Regions from separate parts of the Homo sapiens genome. Here region 2 is linked to region 1. Evidence: promoter capture Hi-C in 16 types of primary human blood cells and fetal thymus (Javierre and others, 2016). All regions are on one chromosome and are shown on one strand. The core of a region is centred on a gene start or on the middle of the fragment in contact, and the rest is flanking DNA. Distances in the headings are between cores, read along the strand shown. Region 1 holds the start of POLR1B (RNA polymerase I subunit B). Region 2 holds the start of NT5DC4 (5'-nucleotidase domain containing 4).

What was found. Contacts are between HindIII fragments. The CHiCAGO score rates a contact against its expected background, and 5 or more counts as called.
Region 2: a contact is called between the fragment with the promoter of NT5DC4 here and the fragment with the promoter of POLR1B in region 1, in 7 of 17 cell types (erythroblasts, neutrophils, M1 macrophages and 4 more). The highest score is 10.2, in erythroblasts.

What each region holds. Positions count from the first base shown.
Region 1 is chr2:112,540,084-112,544,110 of GRCh38, forward strand. POLR1B (RNA polymerase I subunit B) reads left to right here and starts at 2,382. Exons shown (of 15, transcript NM_019014.6): 1 at 2,382-2,588. The coding sequence starts at 2,412. It overlaps TTL (tubulin tyrosine ligase), which reads left to right. Exons shown (of 7, transcript NM_153712.5): 7 at 1-1,656. LOC105373562 (a long non-coding RNA gene) reads right to left here and starts at 2,129. Exons shown (of 2, transcript NR_136321.1): 1 at 2,120-2,129; 2 at 1,573-1,995. RefSeq lists an enhancer at 2,265-2,414. The HindIII fragment of the contact is 8,470 bases long and covers 1-3,165 here.
Region 2 is chr2:112,718,426-112,722,452 of GRCh38, forward strand. It overlaps NT5DC4 (5'-nucleotidase domain containing 4), which reads left to right and starts at 2,595. Exons shown (of 17, transcript NM_001393655.1): 1 at 2,595-2,728; 2 at 3,393-3,466; 3 at 3,561-3,678; 4 at 3,758-3,853. The coding sequence starts at 2,655. The HindIII fragment of the contact is 3,072 bases long and covers 2,562-4,027 here.

The DNA.
Region 1 (4,027 bases), core at 1,132-3,631:
CCAAATTGATCTACCAATTGAACACAATCCTGATCAAGAATCTCAGCCTTCTTTGCAGAAATTGACAAGCTGGGCCGGGTGTGGTGGCTCACACCTGTAATCCCAGCACTTTGGGCGGCCAAGGCAGATGGATTACTTGAGGTCAGGAATTCAAGACCAGCTTGGCCAACATGGTAAAACCCTGTCTCTATTAAAAATACAAAATTAGCCAGGCATGGTGGTGCATGCCTGTAATCTCAGCTATTTGGGAGGCTGAGGCAGGAGGTAGAGGTTGCAGTGAGCCAAGATCATGCCACTGCACTCCATCCTCAGCAACAAGAGCAAAACTCTGTCTCAAAAAAACAAAAAACAAAAAAAAAAAAAAAAGAGAAAGAAATTGACAAGCTAAGCTGACGCTAAAATCCATATTGAAATACAAAGGATCAAATAAATCTGGAGAAAGAAGAACAAAGTTGGAGGATGTGCACTTCCTGATTTCAAAATTTATTACAAAGCTGTATTAATCAAATCTGTGTAGTTTGTAGACAGATATACAGATAAATGTAGATAGACATACAGATCAAGAGAATAGAACTGAGAGTCAAAAATAAACCCTTGCATCTATAGTGAACTGATTTTCGACAAGGAGGCCAAGACAATTTGATGAGGGAAAGAATAGTCTTTTTAACAAATGGTGTTAGGACAACTGGATATCCACATGCAAAGGAATAAAGTGATATGCCTTTCTCACACCATATACAAAAATTAGCTCAGAATGAGTCAAAGACTTAAATGTAAGAGTTGAAACTACAAAACTCTTAGTAGAAAATATAGGTGAAAATCCCCATGATTGAAAAATATCTAGTATTTGATAGCACAACAGGGTGACTGCAGTCAGCAATAATTTGTTGTACCTTCAAAAATAACTGAGGAAGTACAATTGGAATGTTCATGACAGAAATGATGAATGCTTGAGGTGATGGAAACCCCATCTACCCTCCTGTGATGATTACATCGTATGCCTATATGAAAACATCTCATATACCTCATAAATATGCTAATTATGTACCCATAAATTTTTTTTTAAATCCTCATGACCTTGGATTACACAATGATGTCTTAGATATGATATAAAAAGACAGGCAACAAAAGAAAAAAACTACACTTCAAAATTAAAACGTTTTGCTTCAAAGGACACCAGCAAGAAAGTAAAAACCCACAGAATGGGAGAAAAATATTTGCAAATCATGGATCTGACAAGGACTAGTATAGGCTATATAAAGAACTACAACTACTCAGTTGGCCGGGCGCGCGCGGTGGCTCATGCCTGTAATCCCAGCATTTAGGGAGGCAAGGCGAGAGGATCACTAGAGGCCGGAAGTTCAAGACCAGCCTGTGCAACAGACTCCCGGCTCGAATTTTTTATAAAAAGTGATATAGGAATGAAAAGTACCAGCTGAACTAGGAAAGGGGAAGTTGACAGTAAGGAGGGACTATCAGGGGCAGGAGGATACTGGGTAGTGGTGGTTTAATTCATTGTTTTAATTGTGGTGATGGCTGCATGGTTGTATACATAGGTCAAAACTTAACGCGTACACTTTAAATGTGTGGTTTATTGTATGCCAGTTATAACGCAATATAGCTGTTAAACACAAACACAATAAAGTTGAAAAACCAGCAGGCATTCCCTGATTAATCAGTATTCTGGGGAGGTAAGGGGCTCACAGGAACGCAAAAGAAATTCAGGCTGTAAATCCAGTTGGACGCCCCGCTGCCCCATCCCCTCCATCCGGGACCGCCCGACTCCTCTCCCACCTCCTTCCCCAGGCCTCCCCCAGGCCTCCAGTCCGGAAGATGCGACGAGGTTAGCGGGGCCCGACCACTCCTTGGCTTCCCAGGGGTGAGCCTCGCGAGTTAGGAGTTGGGTAGAGAGTCAGCCCGGGGCCCGGCATCCGCTTTTTCGTTGAAGCAACGACTTTGGCCGGATGACTCCCCAGGGTCGGCATCAGCGTGGGACTGGGAACAGGTGAAGGGAAACAGAAGAGAGCCTGAGAAGACCGCTCTCCTCCGATCCTAATTGACTGAGCCAATGAGAGCCAAAGAGGTCACATGCTCAACTGGGCGGGGAGCGGGTTTCCACCTGCGGCATCTTTCGCGAGCGGGGAGATGAGTGGGGCGGAATATGGGAGAAAGGGAGGGCCCGCCACGCTCTGGCTGGACACGGCCTTAATCGGCCCGTTCACTCGACGTTTTTGGTTCTACGTTGACCCCGAGAAACCGAAACCGCAGGGCCTAGGGCGGGTGGAACGAGAGGGAACTACATTTCCCAGCAGGCTGCGGAAACGGGACTGCGGCCACTACTTCCGGCGTGTACCGAGAGACTGGCGTCCGGCGTGTACCGAGAGACTGGCGTCCGGTGTGCAGGTGGCCACATGGATCCTGGCAGCCGGTGGCGGAACCTGCCCAGCGGGCCTAGCCTAAAGCACTTGACTGACCCCTCTTATGGAATCCCGCGGGAACAGCAAAAGGCAGCGTTGCAGGAGCTGACGCGGGCGCACGTGGAGTCCTTCAACTACGCTGTGCACGAGGGTCTCGGCCTCGCGGTGCAGGTGAGCGCGGCGTCCGCCGGCGCCCTTGCCGCGGCGAGGCCAATCCCAGGGAGGTGGCTGGGAGGTCACAGTATGACCCCAGATGCATGTGCTCCTTGATCCTGACAGGCTTGGTGGGTAAGCGGGAGAGCACAACATGTTAAACAGGACGCGGTACTGGCCTTCGTGAGACTTGGAGTCGAGGCGTCTTAAGAGATGTATTCGTGATTCTGGAGTGAAAAGTGATTGTGAACCGTAGTTTGGACAGTTTCGGGGTGCTGTGAGAGTGAGGAAGTGGCTTATCTGGGGATGTGCTTCACAATGCACACGGCTTTATATCACTTGAAGACTTACCTCTCCAAAACGTACCTCGAAAGATCCCGAACGTATTTGTAGGTACAGTGTAATGTTCAAGGTTATCCTTCAGTTTCCTTCTCTTAGAGCTTTAAAGAGAGAAACTACTCGTCATTTGTTATGAATTAAGCAGGTGCCGAGGAAGGTATAAATGAGTCATGAAAGCAAGATTGAATCGAAAAGTGTAATTGCATTATTAGCGTAGAGTAATGGTAGCAGAATTCAAGTGAGTATGGTGGGGGAAAGCTTCGTTTAGTAAGCATCCCCAGTGTCTCCAGGCACTAGGCTCAGAGGATGTGGAGGAGGCAGTCCCGTGTACGAGACAGTTCATGCATTTAAGTGCTCCCTGTCGTGTTTGGGGGTTGAAGGGGTGAAGATAATGAAAGCAGTGCATGCCAATGTTCTTGAGAACTGCTCTGCCAAGGGATTGTGTGGGCTACTGCGGGAGCCTATGGGCGGCGCAACTAATCCAGGAGTTTGAGAAAGGGCAGGATTAGATGAGTTCAAGAAGTGAGAAACGTGCATTTCGTCCAGGGGAAGAGTAGAGCAGAGTCACATGCTTCGGGGACCCTACCTGTGGTTTTGTTGGGTAAGATTTGTGTTGTGGGAGATAGGGATACAGATAATGTGGAGAGCTTTGATTGCCAGTCTGATTCTTGAACTCTATTCGGCAAATAATATGGGAGCCATTAAGATTTATTGTTTAGAAAGACTAGAGGGGTGGGGGTTATTTGTATTGTGCCTGGATTGTTACAGTATCATGTCTGTGAGAAAAAATTCCTAATTAAAAGTTAATCGGGCTGGGTGCAGTGGCTCACACCTGTAATCCAGGACTTTGGGAGGCCAAGGCAGAAGGATGACTTGAGCCCAGGATTTCAAGACCAGCTTGGATAACATAGTGAAACCCCATCTCCACAAAAATTTAAAAATTAGTGGGGCATGGTGGTGCGCACCCAAGTAGCTGGTCCCAGCTACTCGGGAGGCTGAGGTGGGAGGATAAGTTGAACCCAGGAATTTGAGGCTGCAATGAGCTATGATTGTGCCGCTGCACTCCATCCTCGGTAACAGAGTGAGACCTGTCTTTAAAAAAAAAAAATCCAATTGAG
Region 2 (4,027 bases), core at 1,345-3,844, 180 kb after region 1:
CGGATAAGTCCCACACTGTCGAGTTGACCCCAGAAGAGGTACCTGGAGAAGGGACCCGAGAAACCACTGAAGTGATTCATCGTACCTGAACGTTGCTGGATGGCTTCACCACCCTCAGGTGCACAGAGCCTTCAAGATAGAGCCTAAGTTCAGCTATAGGAAAGGCAGGTTTTGTACAGCTGCCATGATGCCTCCCAGTGGAAGGGCTGAGCAACCCCTAGAGACTTCTCCTAACCAGGTATTACTCCTCCTTCTCTTTTCTGACCTAGAAAGGAGCCAGGCAATGTGGAAAAGGGGCTTAAAGGGCTCCCATGAGATGAGCAGAGCGCATGGAATAATGAGTGGAAGCGACTCCAGACAGCCTCCTGATTTCTGAAGCTCAGTTCTCCCCTGACACCTTCCGTGAAGGCTGCTGTATATAGCCTGCTAACCATCAGCCCGTCTATCCACGAATCTACCCATCCAACTGTCTGTCCATTCACTCATTCATGCATCCACCCATCTCTCCATCCATCCTCCATTCCTCCATCCGATGAGGAAACACATATCCTACAGCCTCCATATCCTTGCCTCACCATCTTAATACAGTCATGCGGGGCTTGACCACAGGGATCTGTTCTGAAAAACGTGTCATTAGTCGATTTCACCATTGTGTGATGTCATAGAGTGCACTTACACAAACCTAGATGGTACAGCCTACTACACACCTCGGCTGCAGGGTACAGCCTATTTCTCCTAGCCAGCATCACCACAAACATGTGAGTGATGCTTTGCATTATGATGGCGATGAGGTCACTAAGCCATAGGAGTTGTTGAGCTCCTTATCACCTTATGGGACTCAGTGGCATACGCAGTCCACTGTTGGGCGGAACATCGTTCCGCAGCACACAACTGTGCTTGCTCACCTGGCTTTGTCAAGGAAGGAGCTCTTCCATGGATATGTTTTTCTGTTGTTGTTCCAGATAACTTTTATCCTTTTAAGAGTGCCACCTTCATTTAGTTTAGTTTAGCCATTTTAGAGAGAAAGTGCTGAAACCGACTGTAAACTTGTCTGTCTTTTTTTTTTTTTTTTTTTTTTGAGACGGAGTCTTGCTGTGTTGCCCAGGCTGGAGTGCAGTGGCACGATCTTGGATGACTGCAACCTCTGCTTTCTGGGTTCAAGTGGTTCTCCCACCTCAGCCTCCTGAGTAGCTGGGATTACAGGCATGCGCAACCATGCCTGGTTAATCTTGGTATTGTTAGTAGAGATGGGGTTTCACCGTGCTGGCCAGGCTTGTCTCAAACTCCCGACCTAGTGATCTGCCCGCCTTGGCCTCCCAAAGTGCTGGGATTACAGGTGTGAGCCACTGCGCCAGGCCCTTTTCTTTCTTCCTTTCCTTTTCTTCATTTCCTTTCCTTTCCCTTCCTTCCTTCCTTCCCTCCCTCCCTCCCTCCCTCCCTCCTTTCTTTCTCTTTCTTTCTTTCCTTTCTTTCTTTCTTTTTCTTTCTTTCTTTCTTTCTCTTTCTTTCTTTCTTTCTTTCTTTCTTTCTTTCTTTCTTTCTTTCTTTCTTTCTTTCTTTCTTTTTCTTTTCTTTTCTTTTCTTTTCCCTTCCTTCCTTCCTTCCTTCCTTCTTTCTTCCTTTTTCTTTCCCTTTTTATTGACAGGATCTCACTCTGTTGCCCAGCCTGGAGTGCAGCAATCTCGGCTCATTGCAACCTCCAACCCCTGGGTTCAAGCAATTCTCCTGCCTCAGCCTCCCGAGAAGCTGCCAAGAGGCTAATTTTTTTTTTCTCCTGCCTCAGGCTCCCAAGAGGGCAATTTTTTTTTTCTTCGTATTTTTAGTAGAGACAGGGTTTCACCATCTTGGCCAGGCTGGTCTTGATCTCCTGACCACGTATCCACCCACCTTGGCCTCCCAAAGTGCTGGGATTACAGGCGTGAGCCACTGTGCCCAGCCTTGTCTTTCTTTTTAAAAGAGGGCCTGGCACTTCAGTTAAGTCTTTCTGGATGATCCAGGTCACCGCTCCAAATGGAAGTCACATGCTTGGTTGTGGAGCCAGTGGTATGGGCCCTCAGGGAGTATTTAGAACTCTACACTAAATGGCCCCAGTGGTTCTGCTTTTTGACACTTCCTTTTGTACTTTCTGCCACCCCCCCATTCTGAGATCCCAGTTATCTTCCCAATTCTTATAGCCCTTGGCATGCTTCTAGCAATGTCTTCTCTAAATGGCCTTGAGCTGGGAAATTTGATAACCAAATGTGTCAGAATTGTGCATAAAGCAAGAGTACTGAGTTATTTCTTTTATCATGAGTACAGTACGGAGCCTCCTGACTTTGTATCCCGTCATTTGCCTCATTCTGGGTTCTCCGCTACTCTCCAGGCCGCTGAGGTCCATGGATGCATAAGCCCTAGGAATGAGGAGGGTGCAGTGGACATGAATTGCTCTTCCTAGATCCTTGCTGCTTTTGCTCTAGAGAAAAGGATGGGATACCAGAGCCTGTCCTGGCTGACTCCTCCCTCAAAGGGGCTCGGGGGAGATGGGAGCACAGGGTGGGGCCAGCTGGGTCAGTGGTGCCTGAAGCTTCTGAGGGAGAGGAGAGTGGCTGGGCCCCACTGATAGTGTGCAGGAGGCTGAGGAAGGGACACTTGCCTCCTCCTCACTCTGGGTGACGATGGCCAGTGTAGACTGGAGAGAGCCGGAGGGACTGGTCTCCCCTCAAGGCCCGAAGCAGGACTGGCACCAGCGGTGAGATGGGCACCTGGGGTGGGGGCCAGGGGTCTCAGCCCATAAACACCCCACACGCCACAGCAGCACACAGGGGCTCCTTTAAATACACAGCTATGGGGACTCCCAAAATGCAGACGTACACTTGCACTCACAAGGGACGCACTTCCATAGCTGTAACAACCCATCAGGGAACTGACCACACACACTCCGGCGGGAGGTCCTCTTCACTTCCTTCCCTCCACGAAGATCTCTCCCCTTCACCACGGACACAGTGACATGTGCTATCCAATTGTGACAAACACATCATCTCTGAATTTGGACACTGGGGTCCCATTTCAGAAGGTGACAACCCTCACACCAACAACTGCACCTACTTTCTTACAGGGTTGGATGCCTATAACATGCCTGCATGGTGGGACAGCAAGCGGCTGATTGCCCGCACACACTCAGATGCACGCTTGCACACATGCTCACACATGCTTACATGCACACTCACACTTGCCTTCAGACACACATGGGTCCAGGCAGGGCCCTGGCTTGGCCTGACCTGCTTCCCCTGTGCTTTCTGCAGCTGCAGGGGGTGCTCTGCCCTCCTCTGCGGGGTTTCCACCCCCTCTGTCCTTGGGCCTTGGATTCTGGGGGGCTGGTGGACTGATGCCAACATCCTCCTCTCTCTCCCCAGGATTTTTGTCAACCGCAGCCTGGCGCTGGGGAAGATTCGTTGCTTTGGCTTCGACATGGACTACACTCTGGCTGGTAGAGAGGGCTGGAACACAGCGTATTGGGAGCTGGAGGGAGCAGGGGTGGGCAGCTGGGCACCAAAGCCCTGATTCTGTCCGGGCCTCTGCAGCCTACAAGTCCCCAGCTTATGAGGCCCTGACCTTCGAGCTGCTGCTGGAGCGCCTGGTGTGCATTGGGTACCCGCATGAGATCCTGCGCTACACCTACGACCCCACCTTCCCCACCAGGTGTGTGGCTCAGGACAGGTGGGAGGCCACCCGGCCTTGGTACCCCCACCCACAGTGCCCCCCGACCCCCCGTCTGCAGGCGGCTGGTGTTCGATGAACTCTATGGGAACCTGCTGAAGGTGGACGCCCACGGGAATGTGCTGCTGGGTGCCTATGGCTTCACCTTCCTCTCGGAGTAAGGGACAAAGGTGCCGGGAGAGTGGCAGGCCAGGAGGGGAGGACTGCTCACCTTGGGGGAGGACAGAGGGAGGGAGGGAGGAAGGACGCAGGCCCACGGTGGAGGCTCAGCACAGAAGGGATGCGTGGTGGTTGGAAGGGATGGCCAGAGCCTGGACAGGCCTCCAGGAGG